6 separate regions of the Homo sapiens genome follow, and all the other regions are linked to region 1. The links are contacts of gene promoters, found by promoter capture Hi-C in blood cells and fetal thymus (Javierre and others, 2016). All regions are on one chromosome and are shown on one strand. The core of a region is centred on a gene start or on the middle of the fragment in contact, and the rest is flanking DNA. Distances in the headings are between cores, read along the strand shown. Region 1 holds the start of METTL22 (methyltransferase 22, Kin17 lysine). Region 2 overlaps HAPSTR1 (HUWE1 associated protein modifying stress responses). Region 3 has its middle 51 kb from the start of USP7. Region 4 has its middle 28 kb from the start of USP7. Region 5 overlaps USP7 (ubiquitin specific peptidase 7). Region 6 overlaps USP7 (ubiquitin specific peptidase 7).

The links. Contacts are between HindIII fragments. The CHiCAGO score rates a contact against its expected background, and 5 or more counts as called.
Region 2: a fragment that was not itself captured here is called in contact with the fragment with the promoter of METTL22 in region 1 in 4 of 17 cell types (total CD4 T cells, fetal thymus, neutrophils and 1 more); the score reaches 7.8 in total CD4 T cells.
Region 3: a contact is called between a fragment that was not itself captured here and the fragment with the promoter of METTL22 in region 1, in 1 of 17 cell types (neutrophils). The highest score is 5.5, in neutrophils.
Region 4: a contact is called between a fragment that was not itself captured here and the fragment with the promoter of METTL22 in region 1, in 1 of 17 cell types (non-activated CD4 T cells). The highest score is 5.2, in non-activated CD4 T cells.
Region 5: a contact is called between a fragment that was not itself captured here and the fragment with the promoter of METTL22 in region 1, in 9 of 17 cell types (neutrophils, total CD8 T cells, naive CD4 T cells and 6 more). The highest score is 10.5, in neutrophils.
Region 6: a contact is called between a fragment that was not itself captured here and the fragment with the promoter of METTL22 in region 1, in 5 of 17 cell types (neutrophils, monocytes, activated CD4 T cells and 2 more). The highest score is 9.2, in neutrophils.

Annotation. Positions count from the first base shown.
Region 1 is chr16:8,620,351-8,623,185 of GRCh38, reverse strand. METTL22 (methyltransferase 22, Kin17 lysine) reads right to left here and starts at 1,488. Exons shown (of 11, transcript NM_024109.4): 1 at 1,411-1,488. The HindIII fragment of the contact is 6,720 bases long and covers 1-2,835 here.
Region 2 is chr16:9,120,986-9,123,820 of GRCh38, reverse strand. HAPSTR1 (HUWE1 associated protein modifying stress responses) reads right to left here. Exons shown (of 4, transcript NM_014117.3): 4 at 2,186-2,835. Among named protein-coding and RNA genes, the nearest start is that of HAPSTR1, 31 kb to the right of the region's middle. RefSeq lists an enhancer at 1-332. The HindIII fragment of the contact is 6,607 bases long and covers 1-2,835 here.
Region 3 is chr16:9,013,982-9,016,816 of GRCh38, reverse strand. No RefSeq gene overlaps it. Among named protein-coding and RNA genes, the nearest start is that of USP7, 51 kb to the right of the region's middle. RefSeq lists a silencer at 1,011-1,305. The HindIII fragment of the contact is 6,077 bases long and covers 1-2,835 here.
Region 4 is chr16:8,990,225-8,993,059 of GRCh38, reverse strand. No RefSeq gene overlaps it. Among named protein-coding and RNA genes, the nearest start is that of USP7, 28 kb to the right of the region's middle. RefSeq lists an enhancer at 774-1,068. The HindIII fragment of the contact is 9,740 bases long and covers 1-2,835 here.
Region 5 is chr16:8,908,444-8,911,278 of GRCh38, reverse strand. It overlaps USP7 (ubiquitin specific peptidase 7), which reads left to right. Exons shown (of 31, transcript NM_003470.3): 11 at 452-534; 12 at 2,829-2,835. Among named protein-coding and RNA genes, the nearest start is that of LITAFD, 28 kb to the right of the region's middle. The HindIII fragment of the contact is 1,931 bases long and covers 418-2,348 here.
Region 6 is chr16:8,890,967-8,893,801 of GRCh38, reverse strand. It overlaps USP7 (ubiquitin specific peptidase 7), which reads left to right. Exons shown (of 31, transcript NM_003470.3): 31 at 1-1,705. Among named protein-coding and RNA genes, the nearest start is that of LITAFD, 10 kb to the right of the region's middle. RefSeq lists enhancers at 1,415-1,644, 1,695-1,754, 1,825-1,974, 2,035-2,304. The HindIII fragment of the contact is 2,868 bases long and covers 13-2,835 here.

The sequences.
Region 1 (2,835 bases), core at 239-2,738:
TGCACCACAATGTCCACCTAATTTTTGTATTTTTAGTAAAGATGGGGTTTTGCCATGTTGGCCAGGCTAGTCTTGAACTCCTGACCAAGGTAGATCCATCTACCTTGGCCTCCCAAAGTGCTGGGATTATAGGTGTGAGCCACCAGGCATGGCCTATAGCGCAATTTTGTTGGAAAACTTACATCCCAGAAAAATCAATGTTCTTTGCTTTTTCCAAAAGTGAGCATAATATTACACACCAAATTTTAAGTATAGACACACACAAAAAAACTCAAATTCTTAATCTCTAGTTGAATTTTCCATTTTTAAATTCAACCCAACCAGGCTTCCCAAGAAATGTACGCTGCAATGTAAGTTCCAGATGAAGGAGATTCCCTTTAAGTGGCTTTCCCTAGAATCAGCTATCTGGGAATAAGGAGGCCCTCTTGAACCTATCTCAGGCCCTCATATACTCAGAGGAGTATATGAGACAATTACCACTTTTCGGGCTTACGACATATAGTAAACGTTCAATAAGCAACAATAGTAAATACTATCATTATAGTAATATAATAATGATTAAAGTGAATGCTGGGAAGAAAGAAAAAAGGTAACAGTTTCTCTAGTCAGGAAAAGTCTCTTTCCGGAAATGCAGGGTCTGTATGGGCTTCGGGCTCCTCTCTTTACTGGGCAGAGCTGAGAAAGGAGACCCAGGTTGCAGATGGGGACCTGCCCCACCACCTCTCCATAGGGCTGCAGGCTCATCCCTGCAGCAGGAGCTAACGTGTTCTTGGCTCTTCTAAGGCTGTGGGGGCTAGACTGAGACGCTACCAGCTTTCTTCTCCTATAGGTCCCCAGTCAGTTGTCCCAAATAAGCAGTGTGCTGGGATCACGGTGTTGAAATAACTTCCCTCCTCATCTTTCTTTCTGATAACTGCAACTCACTCAACAATCAATAATTTGGCGCGATCCCATGACGATTTAGGCCAGGAGCTGGGGAGGGCAGGGTGTGAAGGCCCAGGCTGGGGGCAGGAAAGACGTGGCCTGGCCACGGTGCGTAGAGTGGTAGTGAGGGGCTCCGGGGACGTCCCCCGTGGGGCTACTCGTTCTCTTTGTCTTGTCGCCTTCCTGACGCCACCCTTGTGGGTTAACTATTGCCCTCTCAAAAAACAGTCACAGGTCGGGCACTGCCCTCCCTTCCTAATCTAGAACCGAAGGAGAGGTGCCTGGACCCAGGATGGAAACCCAGGTGAGGACGTGGACTTCTTTCCCCAACACCCGTGTTGAGAAGGGGAAACTGACGCTAAGAGTGGGGTCGGGCCTTAGGGATCTGGGCCTCCGATCTGTGGGAGCTCGGATTTCAAAGTCAGGCTCGGCGCCAGGAGGTTCCCTGCACCCTACCCTATCCCGCCGCCTCTCCCAGGCACTTACCCGCCGCGGGGCCCAGCCTGGGATCCCACCCGACTCCCGTCTCTGTGGGACTTAGGCGGCCGCCATAACAGGCGGTCTGCGCAGGCGCGGCCCCGCCCCCGCGTGCGACCATCCGACTGCCCCGCACCGTGGCTCCACCTACCTGCCCGGGCCGCGCATGCGTCCGAGGGTTGCCGGCGGGCACCTGTAGCCTTCGCTCTGGTCGCGGGCGAGGCGTGTTTGCTGGGGGGACCCGCCTAGGTGGCTAAACTCATTCCTCTAAAAGACTTAAATAGGAGTTAAATAACTCTCCCAGCTACTAAGTGGTAAAGCCTGGATTCGAACCCGGGGTGTGGGATCAGAGCCGGTGCTATTTAACCAGCATGCTACTGTATTTATTATCACGGGTGTTACCGTCATCCATGCTCTTAGTACTCGTTTGTTTGTTTGTTTGTTTATTTGAGATGGTCTTGCTCTGTCACCCAGGCTGGAGTGCAGCGGCGCAATTTTAGCTCACTGCAGCCTTGAACTCCTGGGCTTAAGGAATCCTGTTTCAGCCTCTCTAGTAGCTGGGACTACAGTTGCGTGGCACCATTTTTTTTTTTTTTTGTACAGACTGTATCTTGTTGTGTTGCCCAGGCTGGTCTCAAACTCCTGGCTTCAAGCAGTCCTCCTGCTTCGGCCTCCTAAAGCTCATAAATTACAGGCATGAGCCACCACGCCCAGCCAGTACTTGTTATTATTAATAGGTGGTAGTGATTTCATTAGGTGGTAGTGATTTCGTTAATTCGTATGCTCATCAAGTTTCCAACACCAAGGGGGTGAGACAGAGTGGCAAACATAAGACTCCATGTTTGCTCGTTTTTTCTTGCCTGCAGAATTTCAGAAAGCCTCTGAGTCCGTGACTGAGCACAGCCCTCAGAAGAATCCCCTGAAGAGGATGAGCAGGATAGACCACAGATTCTCACGTCTCTTGCCTGAGTCACTGCATTTTTAGAAAAAGTACAGTCAATAATATTGGCCCTTTTCTCAATCTATATATTCAGTGACATCATGGAAGTCAGCCTGGCCACAATGGAGTAAGCCAGGGGATGGGCCGCAGGAAACGAGGATACATAGGTAGCCAGGGTTAGAACTTTTGTGACATTCTAAGAACTTTGGATTTTACTGTGCGTGAGATGGGGAGCTGCCAGGGATATACACCACACTGACGTGTTCACAGACATGCCCAGACACACACAGTGGTGCTCACTCTCAGACATGTCAGTGAACATACAAATATACACACAGGAACATATGTAAAGTCCACATATGTAAAATCTATATCCCTGTGTGTTCACATATACACACACGCACACACATGGCCTCAGCTGGCAACCTTTGTCTAAATTACTTTTTTTTCTCTTTTCAAAATAGAATTAAATCAACATCAATTTCATGGTTACT
Region 2 (2,835 bases), core at 336-2,835, 500 kb before region 1:
TCTTGGTGCCTGGGCCCCACCCCAGAGTCCCATCTAGTTCTTCTGGGGTACCACATGCCCAGTGGCAGATTCTAACATGAAGGAAGGATGAGAAACACAAAACTAGAGAGCAAAGAGGAGACGGGGGAAACTGAGGCTGGAGGCCAGTGCAGAACCCAGAAGCGAGCCCTCGGACTCTGAGAAGGGAATCTTATCCAGCCATGCCACGACAAGCACATTTAAAGGCTAACATCTGAGTCCTCACTTCGCACCAGGCATGGTGCTAGGCATCCTCCACACCATAACCTTGAGGGAGGGGCCCGGGAGGCAGGCCGCCAGTGGGACTGTCACCTACACCCTACTGACCCCAAAGTCCTTCTCTTCACCACCACCCTAGTTCTTGACAGACCTAAGGCCCAGGAAGAGGAAAAATAGGGAGTTCCTTGTGAAAACCTAGAAAACTTCAAGCCACCTTTTATGAACTCATTCAAGAAATGTCTATACCTACCCTGTGCTGCATGCTGAGGTCCAGAGAGCCCAGGTTTTCAAGCTGGCTGTGAAATCAACACAGTTGGTCACATACAACATCCTGTTCAGTGAAACAGCAAGAAGCTATAAAGTGCATTTGACATAAAAAGCTAAGAACTGCTGAGACCTGTTTCATCAGTTCTGTGTGTTCATTCACAAAAGGTGTGGCTGGGTAAAAGATCTTGATGGGAGAGGTATTTCTTACCACAGATCATAGTCCAGTATGTCTGAGAAACACTGAGGATGGGCAAGAGGCGAGCCTTCCTGTGCCCAATGCAATTGTGTACGCAAACACAGTTCTATACAACATTCACATTAACCTAAGAGACCCCAAACAGCAAATAAGAACTTCTTGGTAGTTACAAATTTCTACATACACCTTGAAATCAACATGGCCATGGTGATCTTGAGACTCACCATGGGGAAAAGAGTTTGGGAGTGATTAAGCTCCTGCCCACTACACTCAAGGACAGTTTAGCAGGTGATCCCCTTTTCCCCAGGGAACTTCAGCCCTGGCACCGCCACTCCTGAGGAAGAGGTATGAATGGTCTTAGAATCCTTCCTTAAAGCTCTAAGTTATAGTGGCACATACCTTGGTGGGTTTATAGAGGGCATTCAGATTATGAGTCCACAAGCAAATAGTTCTGAGTGTTGAGCCCACTGGACCCACCGGTGCCAAAAGCAGCCCAGTGGTAGCTGGCTGCCCCAGGCACCCCCAAACCCTTCTTCCAGGGTCAAGCTACAAAACTCTTGTCAGCCAGCTGAGCCCTCCTTGTTGCTGAAGCTGCAGAAAACCACAGGCCTTCTGAAGCTCCCAAAGGCAATTCCACTAAGTGATGAGAGCCCCAACACTTCCAGCAGCAACTCAGAGAACACGCCCACCAGGCCTAAAACACAAGCAAATGCTACGGCCCTCCCCAACAGCGGCCGTGCACAGCAACCACACCAGCACCCCATACTCCCTCTACTTGGGCTAAAGGGGAGTAGCTTCCCTGCTTGAGGGTTAAGTACTAGTGAAGTGAGGCAGCCTGTACTTGCCGGCCTGTGGCATCTCCTAGGAGGGCATTCAACTTCAGTTTGAAAAATTAAAATCTCTCTTACATGTGAACAAGCCCCTTCCCTGAAAACTCACCACTTAGTGTGTTACCTATCGAGGCTGCAGTGAGCTATGATCGCACCAAAGCACTCCAGCCTAGGCAAGAGAGTAAAACCCTGTCTCAAAGAAAAAAGAAAGGGCTAATTTTTCTTTTTCTTTTTTTTAGACGGAGTCTTGCTCTGTCGCCAGGCTGGAGTGCAGTGGTGCAATCTTTGCTCACCGCAACCTCTCCACCTCCCGGATTCAAGTGATTCTCCTGTCTCAGCCTCCCAAGTAGCTGGGACTACAGGTGCGTACCACCACGCCCAGCTAATTTTTGTATTTTTAGTAGAGATGGGGTTTCACCATGTTGGCCAGGATGGTCTCAATCTCTTGTGACCTCGTGATCTGCCCGCCTTGGCCTCCCAGTGCTGGGATTACAGGCGTGAGCCACCACGCCTAGCCAAAAAGGGCTAATTTTTCAATGGCATGTTAAGATAAGCTATCAGCCACATTCCAGAGTTCTCCAGGGCTCTGCTGATGGGAGAATTATAAATGGAGATGTAAATGTATCCAACTTCCAAGGAACACAAGTCACTAACATTCACATTTTTTAATTTATTTTTCTATGTTTTCTATTTATTTCACAGATGAGAAAACAGCCCAGAGAGGCAAACTTACCTAGGTTCCCAGACCTGGTAGTAGAGTCAGCATTCAAACCCACGTGATATCAAGCAAAAAGTCTTCCTTCATACGAGCAGGTAAAAAACAGATTAAAACTGAAAGGTCACTTCTGCCAAAGGAAGTATAAATACCCAACACTGGCTACGATGTAAGGGAACAGGCGCTCTTACTTTCTGATGGAAGTATTAACTGGTACCTTGCAGAAGGTACTTTGGCAAGACCCATCAGTATTTTATAGATGAATTTTTTTGACCCAGATAGTTCATCTACAGAAATTTGTCATAGAGAAACTTAAAACATAGGCCAGGCGCAGTGTCTCATGCCTGTAATCCCAGCACTTGGGGAGGCCAAGGCGGGCAGATCACTTAAGGTCAGGAATTCAAGACTGGCCTGGCCAACATGGTGAAATCCCGTCTCTACTAAAAATTCAAAATTAAATTAGCTGGGCGTGGTGGCGCACACCTGTAGTTATAGGCAGGAGAATCGCTTGAACCCGGGAGGCAGAGATTGCGGTGAGCTGGGATCGCACCACCGCACTCCAGCGACAGAGACTCCATCTCAAAAAACAA
Region 3 (2,835 bases), core at 93-2,592, 390 kb before region 1:
GAGACGGAGTTTCGCTCTGGTTGCCCAGGCAGGAATGCAATGGCATGATCTTGGCTCACCGCAACCACCACCTCCCGGGTTCAAGTGATTCTCCTGCCTCAACCTCCTGAGTAGCTGGGATTACAAGCATGCGCCACCATGCCTGGCTAATTTTGTATTTTTAGTAGTGACGGGGTTTCTCCATGTTGGTCAGGCTAGTCTCGAATTCCCGACCTCAGGTGATCCACCCACCTTGGCCTCCCAAAGTGCTGGGATTACAGGCATGAGCCACTGCGCCCGGTCTGAGATTTACTTCTAGCCAATACACTATGATATTGTTGTTGGATGCAATGGTTCACGCCTGTAATCCCAGCGCTTTGGGAAGCCAAGGCAAGAGGATCATTTGAGGCCAGGAGTTCGAGGTTACAGTGAGCTACTATTGCATCACTGCACTCTAGCCTGGGTGACAGAGTGAAACCCTGTCTCTAAAGAAAAAAAATAGAATATGACATTGCTAATATAATTAAGGTCAGAAACTGGGCTGGGCACAGTGGCTCACATCTGTAATCCTAGCACTTTGGGAAGCTGAGGCAAGTGAATCACTTGAACCCAGGAGTTTGAGACCAGCCTGGGCAATATAGCAAGACCCCAAGTCTACAGAAAATACAAAAATACAGGTGTGGTGGTGCACACCTGTAGTCTCAGCTACTTGGGAGGCTGAGGTGGGAGGATCGCTTGAGTCCAGAAGGCAGAGGCTGCAGTTAGCCAAGATCCCATCACTGCACTCCAGCCTGGGCAACAGAGTGAGACTCTCTGTTTTTTTCTTGTTTGTTTGTTTGTTTGTTTTTGGTTGTTTGTTTTTTTGAGACGGAGTTTCTTGTTGCCCAGGCTGGAGTGCAATGGCGTGATCTTGGCTCACAACCTCTGCCTCCCGGGTTCAAGCGATTCTCCTGCTTCAGCCCCCCGAGTAGCTGGGATTACAGGCATGTGCCACCACGCCCGGCTAATTTTGTATTTTTAGTAGAGATGGGGTTTCTCCATGTTGGTCATGCTGGTCTCAAACCCTCGATCTCAGGTGATTCTCCCGCCTGTACCTTCCAAAGTACTAGCATTACAGGCATGAGCCACCGCGCCCGGCCAAGTTATGATACTGGTTTGGCTGCTGTGACAAAGGTCAAACTAATAGGGGCTAAAATGAGATAAAGGTTTGTTTTTCTCTTAAGTCACCTCCATCCAGGACTGATAGGCCAGTTCCGCAGTGTCAGAGATTCAGGCTGATACATCCTAGTCCACAGTGGCTACTCCAGGCTGCGGTGGCTCACACCTGTAATCTCAGCACTTTGGGAGGCCAAGGCGGGCAGATCACTTGAGATCAGCAGTTCAGACCAGCCTGGCTAACATGGTGAAACCCCATCTCTACTAAAAATATAAAAAAATTAGCCTGGCGTGGTGGCGGGCACCTGTAATCCCAGATACTAGGGAGGCTGAGGCCTGAAAATCGCTTGAACCCAAGAGGTGGAGGTTGCAGTGAGCTGAGATTGTGCCACTGCACTCCAGCCTGGATGATGGAGTAAGGCTCTGTCTCAAAAAAATTTTTTTAAAAGGGCTACTGCAGCTGGGCGCAGTGGCTCTCACCTGTAATCCCAGCACTTTGGGAGGCTGAGGCAGGCAGATCACTTGAGGTCAGGAGTTTGAGACCAGCCTGGCCAACATGGTGAAACCCCGTTTCTACTAAAAATACAAAAATTAGCCGGGTGTGGTGGTGCACACCTATAATCCCAGCTACTCAGAAGGCTGAGGCAGGAGAATTGCTTGAACCAGGGAGGCAGAGATTGCAGTGAGGCAAGATTGCGCCACTGCACTCTACTCTGGATGACAGAGACTTTGTCTCCAAAAAAAAAAAAAAAAAGGGCTACTTCAGTACCCACCATCACACTAACAATCCAGCCAGCAGGAAGTAAAAATGGAGAGCATGCTTGTTTCTTTTAAGGCCACGACCTAGAAGTTGGACGTGTCACTTTGCTCACATTCTATGAGCCAGAGTTTAATCAAGTGGCAAACACGGTCTCCTCTGAGTGCTCAGGTAACACACAGGGACCTAGTACTGAAGAAAGAAGAGGAGAATGGCTATCAGGGGAAAGTTAGAATTCACTGCCACAAGCTGAAGGAAGAAAATCTCAGGCAGAAGGAATTACAATTGCATGCACACACAGGCTTTCAGAGCAAATGATACTTGAGCTGGGTATTAAAGATGTTTGGAGTGAGCTGGGTGGAGAGGGCAGCCTGGGTAGAAGCAAGGAGACCAGAAAGATGCCAGTGTCTGGAGACAAGAAGCCCAGTGTGCCTGGAGCACTGACAGCAACACAAATCTTGAGATGCAGCTGCCACCCTCCCTGTGTTATAGGTAAATAAAGCTCAGAGAGGTTCAGAAACTTGGCCAGGATCACAGGCTGGACTCTGTGAGGCTCAGGTGTAGTCAGGATTCAACTGATGAGGTCAAGAATCAAACCCAGGCTTATAGGATGCCTGCAGGCTTACAGTTTTTCTCTGCTCAGTAGGATTTTGGGTTTTGTTTTGTTCTCTGCATAAAATCACTAGTTCTCAGTCCTGGCTGCACATTATAAACACCTGAGAAGGTTTTTTTGTTTTTTTAGTATCCAGGTTGGTCATAGTGGCTCATGCCTGTGATCCCAGTGCTTTGGAAGGCTGACTTGGGAGGACTGCTTGAGGCCAGGAGTTTGAGACCAGCCTGGGCAATATAGTGAGACCCCAGTCTCTTAAAAAAAAAAAAAAAAAAAACTAGCTAGGTATGGTGGCATGCACCTGTAGTCCCAGCTACTCAGGAGACTGACGCAA
Region 4 (2,835 bases), core at 102-2,601, 370 kb before region 1:
TGAGGTAACATATGCACAGGTTCTGGGGATTAGGGTGTGGACATGTTTGGGGAGCCATGATTCTGCCCATCACAGCAGCCCTCTGAGGAAATGAGTAACTGGAGCAGCCGCACATCAGGTCTCATTTTGCATCTTACATAGAATCCGGCTCTGCTGGCCGCTGCGAGCCAGGGGCTACCCTGGGACGCAGAGTGCATGTGGTTGTCACAAACTGCAAGAGACAAAAATAAGCACGGTCTCTCAGAGGCATCCCTGACCTCTGCAGAGGAGACAGGGACCACCAGGTACCAAACCTGCTATCTGCTTTATCTTCCCACTGTGTTGATTTGCATAGGGATAGGGGAATAATCATCAATGTTTATAGCAATAAAATAAGAAGCAATGTTTATAGCATAAGTGGTGCCCTGCTTAAAATAAGCCTATTGTTTTGGGGGGGGTGATTTTTTTTTTTTATTGTTGTTGTTGTTTTGTTTTTTTGGGATGGAGTTTCGCTCTTGTTGCCCAGGCTGGAGTGCACTGGTGCAATCTCGGCTCACCGCAACCTCCACCTCCCAGGTTCAAGCAATTCTCCTGCCTCAGCCTCCCAAGTAGCTGGGACTACAGGTGCGCGCCACCATGCCTGGTTAATTTTTGTATTTTTAGTAGAAATGTGGTTTCATCATGTTGGCCAGGATGGTCTCCATCTTTTGACTTCGTGATCCACCCACCTCAGCCTCCCAAAGTGCTGGGATTACAGGCGTGACCCACCACGCCTGGCTGTTTTTCTCTTTTTCCTTTTTTTTTTTTTTTTTTTTTTTTTTTTTTTCAGACAGAGTCTTGCTCTGTCACTCAGCCTGGAGTGCAGTGGTGCCATCATGACTCACTGCAAACTCCACCTCCTGGGCTCAGAGATCCTCCCACCTAAGCCTCCTGTAGTTGGAACTATAGGCATGCGCCACCATGCCTGGTTGGACTTCCTGTTCTTTGTGCTCATGGGAACCTGCCATATGCTTATGGTGTCTAGTCGATGAAGGCAGCACAGCCTGGAGGTTAAACAGTCAGCCTTGAGTTCAAATCCCAGCTCTCCCACTTACCAGCTGGGATTGGCTGTTTCCTCTGAGAAATGGAGATGATTATTATAAAAATACTGTCTCCTGGGAGTGTTGTGAGGGTAAAAATGCAACTGCGATGCAAATGTCATGCAAATTTGCCTAGTAGGTCCTAAATAAATATTTGCTCTTGCTTTTACTATGATCTCAATAGGAGTGATTAGAAATTAAGAGCTCAGACATTTTCCAGACCCAGGTGATTCTATCAGCTGTTACAAAGGTGTGTGAAGAGAGAAAAGATATTCACGCCCAGTTTAGCCATCCCCATGTAAAATTAAAATACCTTTCTAAAAGCTGGACATGGCTGGAACCCAGGAGTTCAAGTCCAGTCTGGGCAATGTAGGGAGACCCTGTCTCTAGAAAAAATAAATTATGGGGCCGGGCGCGGTGGCTAATGCCTGTAATCCCAGCACTTTGGGAGGCCGAGGCAGGCGGATCACGAGGTCAGGAGATCAAGACTATCCTGGCTAACAGGTGAAACCCCGTCTCTACTAAAAACACACAAAAAAATTGGCCGGGCATGGTGGCAGGCACCTGTAGTCCCAGCTACTTGAGAGGCTGAGGCAGGAGAATGGCATGAACCCGGGAGGTGGAGCTTGCAGTGAGCTGAGATCATGCCACTGCACTCCAGCCTGGGTGACAGAGTGAGACTCCGTCTCAAAAAATTAATTAATTAATTAATAAAATACCATACAGGCTGGGCGTGGTGGCTTACGCCTGTAATCCCAGCAGTTTGGGAGGCTGAGGCAGGTTGATCACTTGAGGTCAGGAATTTGAGACCAGCCTGGCCAACATAGTGAAACCCTGTCTCTACTAAAAATACAAAAATTAGCCAAGCATGGTGGTGTGTGCCTGTAGTCCCAGCTACTTGGGAGGCTGAGGCAGGAGAATCGCTTGAACCCCAGAGGAGAAGGTTGCAGTGAGCCGAGATCACACCACTGCACTCCTGCCTGGGCAACAGAGCGAGACTGCGTCTAAAAATAATAATAATAGTAATAAAATACCATATTGCATTCCTAGGGTTTCTCAAAGGGTAGTCCAAGAATCACCTTTATTTTTCATCTTTATTTTTTTTGAGAGTGGGTCTCACTTTGTCGTCCAGGCTGGAGTGCAGCGTCGTGATCTTGGCTCACAGCAGCCTCGACCTCCTGGGCTCCAAGTGATCCTCGTTCCTCAGCTCCCCAGTTAGCCAGGACTACAAGCATGTGCCACCACACTCCGTTAATTTTTGTAGTTTTTTTGTGAGCTCAGGCGATCTGCCTGCCTTGGCCTCCCCTGGCCTCCCAATGCTGGGATTACAGGCGGAAGCCACTGTGCCCAGCCCATAAGAACCACCCTTCTGAGGCTGGGAGGGGAGCTGGTGAATACCGCAGAGGTAGGAGGACCGAGGAATCTGCATTTTAAAAACTCCCCAGGGATTCTTGGATTCTTATTCTTACTAAATATAAAAATAATTCTCTCTTTGTAAAGAATCTCAGCAGGAAAACGGAAATGACTGTCTATGTTTGGGTTTTGTTTGTTTTTGAGACAGGGTCTTGCTCTGTCCCCCAGGCTGGAGCGCAGTGGCACAATCATGGCTCACTGCAGTCCCGACCTCCCGGGCTCAAGTGATCCTCTCACCTCAGCACCCCAAGTAGCTGGGGCTATCAGTGTGTGCTACCACGCTGAGATATATAGATAGACAGACAGACAGACAGACAGACAGTTAGATAGATAGATTTTAATTTTAGTAGAGACGAGGTCTCAC
Region 5 (2,835 bases), core at 134-2,633, 290 kb before region 1:
GGAGATGTCAGGACCAACTTCCACCCCACCCCGTGTTGACCTCTGAGGAAATCGAGGTTTTCCTTGTCATTCTGCCACATCAGCCAGCCATTCACATTTGTGCATCTCTGCTTTTGAGACCAAGGGGTTGTCCACACTGCCCAATTCCAAGCTGTCTTCATAATCATAGCTTTACAGTATGTGCTTTGTTCGAATAACAGTAAAACCTTAACTGTTACCTCCATATTGTCATTTTAATGTCCTTAAGAAAGATACCAATGACCTTTGGCCAATGAGCAAAGGTGCTAACAGCACATTTACCTACAGTCTTGGCTACAGGGGGAGAGTTACTGTTAGTGTTGTTTACCTTCTCTGCTAATCCTAAATATGCTGATTTAAATAACTTACACCTGTGTTGGCTACATTATAAATGAAGCTTTAGCACTTGACTTTTCTCTCTCTCTCTTTAAAGTATTTGAATCATTTGTGGATTATGTGGCAGTAGAACAGCTCGATGGGGACAATAAATACGACGCTGGGGAACATGGCTTACAGGTAAATTGAGTGTTTTGTGCTAGTGTCCTGTTGTAGCGTTCTTCTTTATTTTCAATTCTTTTAATTGCTAAATAAAAATTTGCTTGTGCCTTTTCATGTGTTTCTGGTATTTAGAATATACAAGGATTCTGTTTGTAGGATAATTGAATGGGGAGGGAGAGGGGGATGTTGGGAGATGGAGTGCAGCTGGTTTATCCTGTAGAAGCACATCCAGCAGTCCGGAGGGTCTTGTGGGGTTTTAGGCATCTTGTCCTTTCCCCGTTCCTCACCTTACTGGTGTCACTGCTCCAGTTTTCCCTCAGTTTCTCCTGGTCACAAGTGGGATTTCTTAGTAAGTTGGACTGTGTTTAGGTTGTGTTTCTTTATTTTTAAATGTATTTTTAATGAATTTAGTTTTCTGAGGATCACGACTTTAGAATGAGTAGTGTGTTCTCTAGGGTTGTGTCCCCCAGGTTTCTGGGCATCTGAGAGAGCAGTGAGCATGGTGGGCGACCAGGTGGCCAGCCCCCGCTTGGATGAAGGGAAATGGGCTGTTTCTGGCTGCTGGTCTGGCTGGTCTGTTGGATCTGCAGTGTCCTCATGGATCCAGTGATCCAGGGTCTGTTTTGTAATCTTATAACCTTGACTCATTGACTCAACTAATTTATAATTAAAAATGTCAGTCTGGCCTGTGCTTACAAAGCCTGCCAGTGTATATAGTTCATGGTGCCTGTGTACCCATTTTGTAGTCAGCTGTCAGCTCCAAATGTACTCTTCTGCTAGGTCAGTCCAGTTGGACTGAGGGACTGAGGTATAGATCAGAAAGTTGCTTTTTTTTCTGAGACGGAGACTCGGTCTGTTCCCCAGGCTAGAGTGCAGTGGCGCGATCTCGACTCACTGCAACCTCTGCCTCCTGGGTTCAAGTGATTCTTCTACCTCAGCCTCCCAAGTAGCTGGGACTACAGGCGCCCGCCACTATGCCCAACTAATTTTTGTATTTTTAGTAGAGATGGGGTTTCACCATATTGGCCAGGCAGGTCTCAAACCCCTGACCTTGTGATCCGCCTGCCTCGGCCTCCCAAAGTGCTGGGATTACAGGCATGAGCCACTTGCTCATCCAGAAAGTTGCTTTTTAATGAGAACTTGGTGTGATGAAGAAATATTCTGGTCTGTTGACGAGAATTACTGTTCTCTATTCTGGATGTTTTAGGGTCTGGTTGAGCAGTATGTATTTGAGTCGAAGCCTCAGTGGACAGCGGTGGAGACAGAATCCTTTTATCTTTCAGACTGTATTAAAAACAGGTCCTTCCCCACTGTGGAGAGGGGTTCTGAGGTCTGTTTTTGTCTTTCCTGAGATAGCTCTGTCCTCTTAAATGAGCTGATGTACACCAAAGAACCTTGGCATATGGGTGTGCCTTGTCATGGTCCCCAGTTCCTCCAGGTCTCTCGCTGGCTGCTGGGCAGGTGGATTTCCAGCCAGAAGGAAGGTCTGCATTGGAAATAGAGCTGTGAGTCAGACATGGAGTGAGGGCCCCTGACCGCCTGGCCGTGGTCGAGATAGGCAAAGCCTGATTTTACTGAGGAACAAAGAGCTGGCCAAGATGGAGCAGTGATAGAGCAGGGCAAGAGCTTAGAGTCCGGTGTCCCCATAGAAGGCTTGTTGAGAAGTTGGGGTGTCCTGTCCCACAGAGTCCGGCAGTCAGCTGGGGAAGGGCCTTGCTGACACTGAATCAGAACATTTTCTTAGAAGTGGGATTGAACCATAAGCCCTAAGGGCGTGCCCTGTGATATATGGGTTCTTATGCAAACATCAAAGAGCCCAAGGAAAGGAAGCTTATAATCCTGCCGACTCATCAGTTGTGTTCATTGCTGCTTGTTCTGTTTGGGCATTTCATAAGCATACCTAATCTTGGGTAATTGTAACCAGAGTTTTCTGATTTTCCATTTAATGATTTTTCTGTGGTTCTCCATAATTTGCACAGTGTTTAATGACTGTATAACACAGCAGCAAATGACTGTCTAAATTTCCTTAACCATTTCTTCCCTGATTGCTGGGCATCGAGTTAGAATATAATCCAAGGTAAGAGAATCTCTCACAGTCAGTGCTGGTGCAGCATTATTTTAATAAACAAAGAGACCCATAAACAGACCTAAAGAAAACATTTCAAAGATGCCCTAAATGGACACCTAAACTTCCCTGCCTTTGTCTCCAGAGTCTCCAGACATGTTCCAATCTTGCTGAACCGCTGTTGCTTTCATTGCTTCCAGGAGTAAGTAGAGGCTAACTACATTTGCATTTGTTTTTCAATGTTTAGGAAGCAG
Region 6 (2,835 bases), core at 197-2,696, 270 kb before region 1:
TTTTATAAAGCTTGGATGCCAATGAGAGTTATTTTATGGTAACCACAGTGCAAGGCAACTGTCAGCGCAATGGGGGAGAAGAGGTTAGTGGATCGGGGGTCCCTGGCTCAAGGTCTCTGGGCTGTCCCTAGTGGGCACGAGTGGCTCGGCTGCCTTCCTGGGGTCCCGTGCACCAGCCCTGCAGCTAGCAAGTCTTGTGTTTAGGCTCGTCTGACCTATTTCCTTCAGTTATACTTTCAATGACCTTTTGTGCATCTGTTAAGGCAAAACAGAGAAACTCACAACCTAATAAATAGCGCTCTTCCCTTCATTGTGTGCATTGTCGGCCCTTCCTCGGGTTCTCCTCCTCCAGCTGCCTGGGGGCTTTTTAATAAACTTGTCTCACCTCGTCAGCCACTACTGTCTGCAGCCCCTTTGCAAAGTGGATGCACTGAATACAGTCCGGACAGACATTGTGGGGGTCTTTTTATTAAATCAAGAACATTGTTAAATTCAATTAAGGTTTACTCTGCTGCCTTGGCAGACTTACGATCTCAACAGTTCATACGAGCAGGTGAAAGGATTATAAATAGAATTTCGTTAAAGTGGAACAGACGACAAGAAAGCCTTTTAGCAAGAGGGCATGCTCACTAGTGGTTAGTAAGCTGTCGACTTTGTAAAAAAGTTAAAAATGAAAAAAAAAGGAAAAATGAATTGTATATTTAATGAATGAACATGTACAATTTGCCACTGGGAGGAGGTTCCTTTTTGTTGGGTGAGTCTGCAAGTGAATTTCACTGATGTTGATATTCATTGTGTGTAGTTTTATTTCGGTCCCAGCCCCGTTTCCTTTTATTTTGGAGCTAATGCCAGCTGCGTGTCTAGTTTTGAGTGCAGTAAAATAGAATCAGCAAATCACTCTTATTTTTCATCCTTTTCCGGTATTTTTTGGGTTGTTTCTGTGGGAGCAGTGTACACCAACTCTTCCTGTATATTGCCTTTTTGCTGGAAAATGTTGTATGTTGAATAAAATTTTCTATAAAAATTATAATTCAGTGAGTTACGTGGAAGTGGAGGAAGATTTCTACTCTCCCTGGAAACAGGCCTGGGAAACCTTGGCATTTGTAACAAGGTTTCACTGAGATGTACTTTTCCTTCTAATTCCGTTTTGCGGGGGCAGGGTCTCTTGTTTCTTTTTTTTTTTTTTTTTTTTTTTAGCCTCTAACTAGTCACATTTACTCTTAAGAAATGAAAGGTTTTCCAGGAGAGAACTGTGTACAAATAAGGTGACTGGAGATGTGACCTGATGTGTCACGAGGCCCTTCGGGGCGGCAGGCGCTATCGTGGGCGTGGTCCTTGCACCGTCCCATCGGCCTTGCCTTCCAGCTCCGTGGCACGGTTTCCTGGTCTTTGGGCCAGTGTGTACCTTGGAGTGACTTCCTTTCTCAACTTCCACTGCAGTGTGTGTGCCTTCTGCTCTGAGAGCTGCCTTGTGACCCGTGTGATAGAAAGCAGGGAGTGAGGGTCCCCGCGGACCTGGCCCTTCCCTCCTTCCTCCCCCAGAAAGAGGAGTTAGAGCAGGGGTGCGAGAGCCGTTCGCTGTGGGTTTGTCTTTGAACAAACATTAAGGTGTCTTGTTTTTGTTCTGGGCTGGGGGTTGGCTGTAGTCTTAGGTAACTGAAAGTTCCTACTCTCCCTTAAGGTATTAAATGACTCTTTTTCCAAAGAACGTGTTGTAATGTTTCCGTCATCTGCCGCGTTCCCTTTTCCACTCACTCGCAGTTACAGTGTCAGGAGTTTGAGTTTGTTAAACTGGTTCTGGGGAGACAAGCTGAAATTTTAAAGAAAGAAAAATGAACTCCCCTTCTCCGGCCTCACTGTAACCCCTGGGACTATTGTGTCCTCTCCCTCTGTGGGGTGTGGATGCCATCTGTTGACAGCATTCGGAGTCTTCACAGCGGGGAGCCCTGAAAACCACTGCGTGACAGCAAGGGCCTGCGGTCACAGTGGCCCTTCCCACGCCCTCACACACAAGAGCAGCGAGCTGAAGCAGTCTTGTTTCAAAATGAGAAGAGCAGCCAGGCGCGGTGGCTCGTGCTGTGAGCAAAGCCCAAGGGAGACACTATGGGACCTGGCAGAGTCCCCTGCAACGTGGGTGCCTTGACAGGGCGAGAAGCCACGTCTAGACACCATCGCTTCCTGATGGAGGCCCTGACCCAGCTTCTCTTTCACCAGACGGCAAGGACATTTGGCGTCATACATAACATCACTCATTTGCTGTGAGGCAAATGTTTATGGTGCCAGGGATGGAAATTGTGAGTAGTTTAAAGTCTTAACTCTGAAACCACCTTCACAGTTAAAGCAAATGCGATAAAACCTATAGCACCTGGGCCGGATGCGGTGGCTCACACCTGTAATCCCAGCACTTTGGGAGGCTTGAGATCGGTGGATCACTTGAGGTCAGGAGTTCAAGACCAGCTTGGCCAGCATGGTGAAACCTTGTCTCTACTGAAAACGCAAAAATTAGCCGGGCATGGTGGTAGACACCTGCAGTCCCAGCTGCTCGGGAGGCTGAGGCCAGAGAATCACTTGAACCCAGGAGGCAGAGGTTGCAGTGAGCTGAGATCGTGCCACTGCACTCCAGCCTGGGTGACAGCGTGAGGGAGACTCCGTCTCAAAGCCATAGCACCTGAAGGTTCCTTGAATTACTAAGGTGAGGTGTGTAAGTAAGACATCTCTCTTGTGGTTTGGGCTTAGGCTAGGGTCAGAGTTGGTAAACTTTCTGTAAAAGGCCAGAGTAGGTATTGTGTGATGGTCTCTGTTGGGACTCTCAGCTCTGCCAACATAGCATGAACG